Regions from separate parts of the Homo sapiens genome. Here region 1 is linked to region 2. The links are contacts of gene promoters, found by promoter capture Hi-C in human tissues and cell types (Jung and others, 2019). All regions are on one chromosome and are shown on one strand. Each heading gives the region's core, a stretch centred on a gene start or on the middle of the fragment in contact. The rest is flanking DNA. Distances are from core to core; before and after follow the strand shown.

What was found. The method cuts DNA at HindIII sites, captures the fragments that hold promoters and counts their contacts. A contact is called where the count stands out against the background at its distance.
Region 1: a contact is called between a fragment that was not itself captured here and the fragment with the promoter of FBXL3 in region 2, in 1 of the 25 tissues and cell types used here (H1 embryonic stem cells).

What each region holds. Positions count from the first base shown.
Region 1 is chr13:77,588,101-77,592,762 of GRCh38, reverse strand. SCEL (sciellin) reads right to left here. Exons shown (of 33, transcript NM_144777.3): 10 at 3,539-3,619; 11 at 1,303-1,368. Among named protein-coding and RNA genes, the nearest start is that of SCEL-AS1, 16 kb to the left of the region's middle. The HindIII fragment of the contact is 3,596 bases long and covers 1,612-4,662 here.
Region 2 is chr13:77,024,200-77,028,685 of GRCh38, reverse strand. It overlaps FBXL3 (F-box and leucine rich repeat protein 3), which reads left to right and starts at 1,527. Exons shown (of 5, transcript NM_012158.4): 1 at 1,527-1,859. RefSeq lists silencers at 1,407-1,456, 1,627-1,906, 1,927-1,986. The HindIII fragment of the contact is 16,155 bases long and covers 1-2,525 here.

The DNA of each region.
Region 1 (4,662 bases), core at 2,160-4,659, 560 kb before region 2:
GGAGATCCCCATCTCCACATACAAATTTCTTTTTAAATTAGCTGGGTGTGGTGGCCTGTGCGCGTAGTCCCAACTACTCAGGAGGCTAAGGCAGGAGGATCTCCTGAGCCCAGGAGTTTGAGGCTGCAGTGAGCTATAAGTTCTCTGCTGCACTCCAGCCTGGGTGACAGAGCAAGATCCTGTCAAAAAAAAAAAAAAAAGGAAGAAGAAGAAGAAGAAAAGAAAAGAACTCAGTATCTCATAGATGGTTAATAAGGTTCCATGAAGAAAGGATTTTGTAGCCAAGTAAGTTGGGAAATGTAACCGACTTTTGCTGATTTGGAATACACATAAGCACACTAAAGATTCTGAAAAGTTCTGTGGCAGAAAACTCTATTAAACTGTGTTTCCTAAATGTAGTGAAACACTGAACTCTTCTTTTGCAGAACATGCATTGACATCCTGTGGCACATAGAACACAGGTTGGGGAATGCCAAGAGTGGTGCTGTAAGCTCCTCAGAACAAGGGAAACATGACTTTCTCCAAAGAAGAGAATACATGTGATGTGTCTTTTAGAATGGCACTCTTCTGAAAGTCAAACGGGGATAATATAAAAAATGAAAAGTATATAAGTTTTAAACTTCAAAGTAATTTTTTCAGTCATAAAAATCTTTTGACTGAAAAATTATCATATTGATAGACCTATAAAATTGCACTGTTTAAAAACTATTTTCAAAAAGTAATTTTTTTCCTTAGAAAAGGGAGAAAAAGAAGACACATCCAGAACAAATGCTAGACTAAATAGGATGTGCAAGACAACAAGCATAAATTAGAAGTGTAAATCGGGAGACCAGACATTTGGGGAATGCCACCTTACCCTCCCCCCCGACGACATTTGGTGAATGTCCCTTAACAAATGGCATCAATGTGCTTCTTCCTGATGCTGCAGGATTTTGTAACACAAGTTCAACTGAACAACTGTATTTCCACCTCTTTATACATCCACACCAACTATATCATAGACCTCAGAGCAGGTCCTGGGAATAAAGAGGTGAGCAAGCTTTCCTGCCTTTAGTGGGTTTGATCTTATCCTGTTACCTTGTTCACACCATTTTGGTAGTTTTCTTAATGGAAAGTTTGGGATAGAATTAAAAGGAACAAAATTCTGAAAGTGCCTACAAAAACATTTATTAATATTTTGGAGTCAGTTGGAAAACTGATTTTGTCTACCTTATTATTAATTGCCTTGCATTTTTTAATGTGCTGAGAAAGCATACTTTATCATTACTACAGTTACATAGATATAAATAGAAATCAGTGTACCTTATATTTCTTTCAGCAGATCTGTTGGTTTCTGTATATACACCTGGTTTAGGTGGATGTATCTGCCTATATTTTCAAAGTTAGAAGATTATATCAGTCAGAAAAGAAAACACTTTTTGATAAATTGAAATTTATTTTAAAAAATTTATGTACAAAAAGATCAGTGTTTGTTGGAACCATAACACTACCTGAGATAACAAACTTAAATTCTTTGGGTTGGCGGGAACTCCAGTATACTGAGTTTGTAATTTAATCTATCTTTATCGCATATTTGTAAACCACTGGATCTATCTAGACTTATAAGTTCTAAATATGTTTATGTTGTTTTTTGTTCTCCATCAATAAAGCATTTTCATACTTATCTCTATCAGATAATGATATAACATTTTAAAATATTAATTTTTGTTATGGGCATCAAAGGGATTTTTTTCTTAAAGAATTATCCCATTTGAATACTATCAAGAAATATATTTGTTCATAAAAGGTGGGAAGAAGAGTCTATGTTTCAAGTACACCTACTACATTGGGAATGACCATACTAAGCTGACAGAATTAAATTTTATTATGTTAGGTTCTGGCACAATTTAAGACTTTTCTCTACTCTTTTTTAAAGTATCTGGTTGACCTACTTATACATTCCTACTTGTTCTCAAGAAGCTATATTCGACTATTTTTTGTACTCCTGAGGACATGTGTTAATTACATAGGAAACACTTCCATTTCATATTCTTTCATTAAAATCATCTTGCTGTGATTAAAGTAGTCAGGACTTTAAAAAAACATGCAAGTTGTCCCAATTTTATTTTTTAGATCATTGGTAGAATAAAGAAATTTGAGTAGTAAGTTCCTGTGAAATTTAGCTTCCTTTAAATTTAAACAAGCTTGTAGCTCTAGTGATGCTGATTTTAGATTAGAATATCGGTGGTACTAAGGCCAATTAATTTTAGCCCCTTAAAACAATTCTATTCAAATTGGGATTTAATTGCTCAATACTAGAAGAGTTAGAGGAAAAATAATGTAAGATTAAAAAGCTTGAGAAGATATTTTTAAGAGATCATTATAACCATCATACAAACAAAAAGTTATAAATCTGATCTATATTTTTAATTAGTTCAGTGAAGAAATATTCTCTTGACTCAATTTAAAAAATTATGCTCTCATCCTATGGACAAAATTTCAAAGATCCTGTGCAGTTTCACTGAACAGAAATTCAAACCTGGAGTTTTAACACCTATTGCTACATGGTCCTGCTGCCCAGTCAAAACTTTGTAACTGAAGTTACTCTCTTAATGAAGAATATTTCTATAATTGTGTCTACTAAAAAGTAGTTCTATGGTTGTGTCTTATTAAAGAATAGTTTCATAATTGTGTCTTACGTGGTGTCAAAAAAATCACCATCGAAGAGCAAAAATACAAAAGAAGCAACAGTAGGCAATCAAGGAGATGTAATGTAGTCAATCTCCGTTGAGTTACTATTTTTTAATCTCACAATAATAATGGAAATGTGGGGTGTACATCTTGAAAAATTGTTCAAGATATATTAAACAGTTTAAATGTAACACATGGGAAGAGTTCAGATCTCTGAATTTGTTTCCAAGTATTAATTATAGAGTGACAGAGATTCAAAGCTGAGAAGCAAGTCTATTTTTCCTGATTCAGAGACAAGTCAATTAGAACATCTTTCAAAATTTGTGATAGTTTTGAAATAAATTACAAATCCCTTCAGTAAAAAAAGATTAAAGAACTACTCAAAGGTATTTGTAACATAAGCAAGGATTTGAGTGGTAACACAAAGTTTCAAGAACATCGTTCATCAGAATCTGTATCTCTTAGTGGGAAACTTAACTTGGAACAAACATGAACAAAAAATACATTTTTAATATGGTTTATATGTATATTATATGTGATACATGTCAAATACATATATGTATTTATATTTGTATATTAGGAGCAAATATATAAAAAGTCTGTGTACAAACACTTTCTGAACATGAATATTGTTCCATTTTTATCTTGAAGGCATATTTTCTTAAGACAAGTTAGCCATTAGTATTCAAAGACAAACATAAATAAACATATGTGTTGGGAAATAAAATTAGAAAAAGTTCTACAGGCGCTTCTTTAGGGAATGTGCACACAAAACATTCATGCTTTGCCCACAGCGGGTCACAGTCCATTTACTTTCATTTCCCTTGAACTTCATTTTGTCAAGAAATTCTGGAGTACTAGGTCTTACCTATTATCCTGTCTCAGCTGGTTAGGAGAAGAAACAGGAGAACTGGGCTTTGGAGGTATTGGAGGGTGAACACCTGGTTCCCTTTAAAACAGAAAACAGCAGTTCATTTCACCATGGAAACATGGTAAATTTTAGCATCTATTAACTGAATGCATTTATTGCCTACATAAAAATATCCTTTGCATCTTACAACCCCCATGTGTGAGGTACCTGAAAGGTCAGAATCCATGGAGCACTAAACTTTAAAGAAGTCAAATATTGAAAATATGTGTATTTTTAAAGTTTATTTAATCAGGTTCTTGAAAACCCAATCCTCTTTCACTATAGTTTGGACTATACTATGTTCTTTAAATAACTCAATATTTTGCTAGTATATCTAGCTCTAGTCATGGCATTTCAGGTCAGCAGTGCATGAGAACTGTAAATGGTCCTTGGGTATTAATATATAAGCTTCTTTGGGGATTATGTCAACTATCAGGCTGCTATGGAAACAGCAAGAAAAGGCTTTAATTTCAGAGACCTCAAGGTAGCATTGATTTGAAGCTCTTAACTAAATCTGACTTAAATATTGTCAGCACAGGCCACTTTGATGCTGACAAAGCATATATACAATCTACCGTCAGCCTAAACTTTCCAATGAAGCACCACAGCAGTCTCTGAGTTGGCAGGACTTAATGAGGTAGGAACTGGAGATGGGCAATTATGTGCACATTTTGGATGGAGTCAGCACCTTACTAAGAGTATGTCACTCCCCTGTGTTCCCCACCACTACCACCCCAGCAGTTCTCTATTTGTCCTCAACATAAACTCTGTACCTGGTAAAAGAACCCTCTGATCCTGTGTACCCTTCTGGCTTCTGTAGCAATGGTAGATAGGCATGTGGGCTAGAGTCAGGCTGCCTGAATTGCCAGCTGTGTGGTAACAGGTTAACTTGATTCTGTTTCTTCATCTGTAATAATCTTTCTAATAGGATTGTTGGGGTATTGTCAGGACTGAATGAGATTGTGTTTTTACTCAACAAACATTTATTGGTAGCTTTCTATGTGCAAGGAAGGCTCTCTGTGAGCTGGGTAATGTCCTTGTTCTCAAAGGCTTTCAATATACAAATAAATATATGTCAGAAG
Region 2 (4,486 bases), core at 278-2,777:
TTTGTTTTTCCTTAATAATTATCATTGTCCTTCTTAGAACTTCCTATTGTTCCTCATCATCCAGTCACTGAGGGACCTAAACAAATGTTGCAGCTCAGGCAAATCCACACTCTTATGCTACTAGAGGCTTTGTACAGTTTGATTCAGTGATCTGACAGCTGACAGGCCCTTAAAAAACACCGAACAAACAACACTGGCATTTCCCCACATTGAATTCATTTTATTATAGAAACAGTCTCACTCTCTCACCCAGACTGAAGTGCAGTGGTGACATCATAGGTCACTGTAACCTCCTACTCCTGGGCTCCAGCCATCCTCTCGATTCAGCCTCCTGAGTAGTAGCCGGGATTACACCAAGCTCGTCTGATTTTTTAAAATTATTACTCTTCTATTTTTTTGTAGAGACAAGAGTCTGGACATATTGCGCAGGCTGGTCTCCAATTCTTGACCACAAGCAACCCTTCTGCCTTGGCTTCCCAAAATGTTGGGATTACAGACATAAGCCTGTACCACTCCTGGCCTCACACTGAACTTCGACGTAACTTTATACATGGCTTCCTAGCTCAATTTCTTGAGAAAACGGGAAGAACGGAGAGCTCCCTGGGCACCACTGCTTTTCAGTGTCTTATACATGGGTCTGAGTGTTCTAAGACATCTTTGAATGGAAAACTACTTTCTCTCTTTTTTTTTGGAGGTGTAGAGAGGAATGGCGCATGATTCAACTTAATGATATTGCACCTAAGAATGTTTCTAACTGTAAGAAAACGCAGTATCAAAAAATCCAAACTTTAAAACAAGTCAACTAGGTAGCAGTTACAAAGATGCCTTGATTTACAAAAGGATTCACCAGAGGTTTTCTTTTCAGCAGCTTTGTAATCCTTTACTTTCCCCATTGCGTTTCAAAAGCTATTTACAAATTTCAGGACTCTATTTCATAAAGCAAATGTCGTTTTTAAAATGTAATAACTCTAATGATAAAAGCCACTTTAGAAATATTGGGAAATACAAATATTTGAAAAACAAAAACCATGTGCAATCCCAGCGTTAATACTCTCACTATTCTGGTACATTTCCTTGGCATCTTTTAAGCACCACTTATGCACATCGATGCGCGGGTCTTCGGAGACTGTATTTAACTCCTCGGTTTCAGGCATCCGGGGCGGCCACCCGCGGGCCGCGGTCCCCAGCAGGCTCCGGCGAGACTCCTTCCTTTCTTTTTTCTGCTCCACCTCCCTAAACCTTCCAGTTTCAGCCACAGATAGTCTCTTCCACATATAGCTAGCTTCAGCCCTCCCACATTCCATCTCAAAACAACAAAAAAAATCCCCTTCAAGCGGGAGTCACATCTCTGGCAGGAAGGCAGAGGCTCGTCCCACAGCAAGGAGACTGGGGCGGCCGCAGCGCGCGCTCCCGCTTGGGCGCGGCCCTACTCCCGCCGGGCTCCGCCCCCCCCCCGCCCCCTTCCCGCCCCCTTGGGCGGGGACGCGCCAGGGAAGCGCGCGGCCGCGAGCCCTGGGCGCCATTTTAGACTCGCTGTTTGTGGCCCAGGTGCAGGAAGCTTACGCGGTGGCAGCCGCTCGCTGAGGTAGTCTCTCGCGGCGCCGGGGATCCCTGAACACAGACAGCGCGGGACTGAGAAGGAAAGCTTCTTTCTGGGCAGCCAGAGCCGCAAAGGTGGAGCCGCGTTGGCGCCCTCCGCGGGACCAGCGCCTCGGATGCGGGCGGAGCGCGGGGGGCCGCGGCTGCGGGAGCGCGAAGCGGGGGGCCAGGGGCGCCTCATGTGAGAGCCGCGGGACCTGCAGCCGCCGCCGTCCCCGGAGCACGGGGTGGTGTGTGGGGGAAGCCGCCCCCGGCAGCAGGTAACGGCGGAGGGGCAGGGCCGAGCCCCGCTGCGACGGCGGAGCCGGGGAGGGACCGCGGACCGTCTGTGGGCGGGCCGGGGTGGGGTGGGGTGGGGGGGGGCGCGGGGGCCGGGGCGCGCGCGGGCCGCTCCTCAGGAGTGCCGGGCGGGGCGCGGGGCGCGGCACCCAGACCTTGGAGCTTGCTTGGGGGCGTTTCCCCGCCGTGCCTGCTTCCAAACATGTCAACAAGGCGTGGTGCGTGTGCGGCGGCCGCCTGCAGCCTGCCCGCGACGCCGCCGCTCCCGGGTTCGCCGCGGCTCCTGCCAGGCTTTATGACCCTTGGCGGGGGCTGGTGACAGGCACCATGGAGCTCGCACTCTGTGGGCTCTCCCGGCGTCGGCTACGCCCGTGCTGGTAGCTTGAGCAATGAGGCACTGAAATGTCAAAGCAAACTGCCCAGGGTGGGGCGCATGAGAAATGTCAGGGGAAGCCAGTCGGTGGGGAGGTGGCGCAGGGAGGAGGGGACGCCCCTGCCGCTTAGCCAGGCGAAAAACTTGGTCAACTTGTGTTGAGCGGATTCGCGTCTGCCTTTGGCGTGGGCAGTCCTTTAGGTGGGGTTGCAGACAGGGGTCAGGAAGCAGCCCAGTAAATGGTCTGTATCTCCAAGCTGAGAGGTGAGAGAGATCATTTTTATTTTGTCGTTGCTAATGATATCCAGTTGAGTGACCCAGATTTTTTAATTAGAATCCTCCTTTTCTAACTTGAAAAAAAAGTAACTTAGTTTCTGTTATCTCTGAAATATTTATAAAAATACCATCAACTATCAGTTATCTATCTATCTATATGACCTGTAGACAGATTTTCGCCACTGTGCGCTCTCTAAGCATTTAGTTGTGAGTTAACCTCTTTATAGTGTTTTATTCTTGTAGTTCAGCCAAAGAATGCATATTAGTTTGATATTAGTAAAAGCAGAACAGAAAGGAACTGTGATGCCAAAATAGGCTTTTTAGAGTTAACTACAAATGAGCATTTAAAATTATTGCATGCCCAGTGTAAAAGTGCCTAATACAACGATGCACACGGCTAGCTGTTCACTTCCGGTCTTCACCTAATGAAGTTGCTTCTTTCAAAGTTTTTTTTTTTTTTTTTTTTTTTTTGAGACAAGGACTCACTTTGTCACCCAGGCTGGAGTGCAGTGGCGCGATCTCGGCTCTAGCGATCCTCCCACCCCAGGCTCCCTAGTAGCTGAGACTACAGGCATGGGCCACCATGCCCAGCTAATTTTTGTAGAGACAGGTTTCATCGTGTTGCCCAGGCTGGTCTCAAACTACTGAGCTCAAGCGATCCGCCCGCCTTGTCCTCCCAAAGTGCTGGGATTACAGGCGTGGCCCACCGCGCCCACCTGGAAAGTTTATGGAACATAGAGTTAGTTCACTAACTCCTTGTGCTGCTCAGCTAGTCTGTGGTCTTTCCTCAGTAGTTTGCTATTTAGCAGTTTGTAGTCATATCAGTCCCTCACCAAAAGCTGTGGTGGCCTAAGTTGCATTATTTGGGGCCTAGAAGCTTTGCAGGAAATTAAACTGCCAGAGCCCTGAAGAGGCCTAGTTTTGGTGCTCTAGATTTCTAGAGTCTAGAATGTCTCATTGACGTTTTATAGTACAGCTTGGTTCTCCACACTTCTTTTCAAATATAGGAGGTGTTTTCACTTTGACAAAAGTAGGAATTATAGGGTCCATTGATGTAAATTATTTGCAGGCTGGAAGATGCTCTGAGATGTTTAATTTTATGTATAGCAGAGTTTCATGTGTAAATAGATTTAATAAGATACTATTAAAGTAGTGTAAATTTTTTCATACATAAATGAAATCAACTTGGAAAAATTGACATTTAAAATTTTAAGTGTCCACTCACTTCTGTTATTTTCATGCACAAATGAGGATAGTGCAGAGGATATTTTTATTGGAATTTGGCCTTACATTTTTTTCAATTGCTTAATGCACTATAATTGTAACATAGACATATTACGTATGACAATTAACAGACTTAATTCAGCTATTTGTAAACTGGTAAGTTCTTAAAATAGGCTTTGGTGATCATATAGTGTTTTTATATCTAGATCAAGAGATACTGTCCCTTAGTGTTGCATACTGTTAAAAAAAATTTTGTCAACTTCTTTAACCTGAACTTGGAAAGGTATTTAAGTACATTTTATTTAAAACAGTACTATAATAGACAAAAGAAAGTTTCTATTTTTAGGACCAGCAAAGTATTTATTAGCAAAGACTATTATGTGAATAAGGCTACCATTTTATTTTTGTTTATATATCCATATACTCTAAAGTAAAATGAATCATTCCGTCTTTAAGTTGTCTAGTTCTGGTTTTAGAAGATTGTTCTCCAGAAACAGGCAATCAGTATTCTATAATAAGGTGTAGAAATTGCAAAGACTGTCATTCTTTTTTGAATCTCTGTATCTCAAAATTGTGAGTAGTTTTAGGTGGTCAGAAGAGAAATTATAAGCTCTGGATAGCAAACACTTTGTTCTTTGACCCAAATTTTATATACTAAAATTAAAGTAAGCCTTCAGGGTAAGTTAAAGCAGAAAAATGGGTCATAATAACAGTGTTATCTCAGCCTCTAGTGAG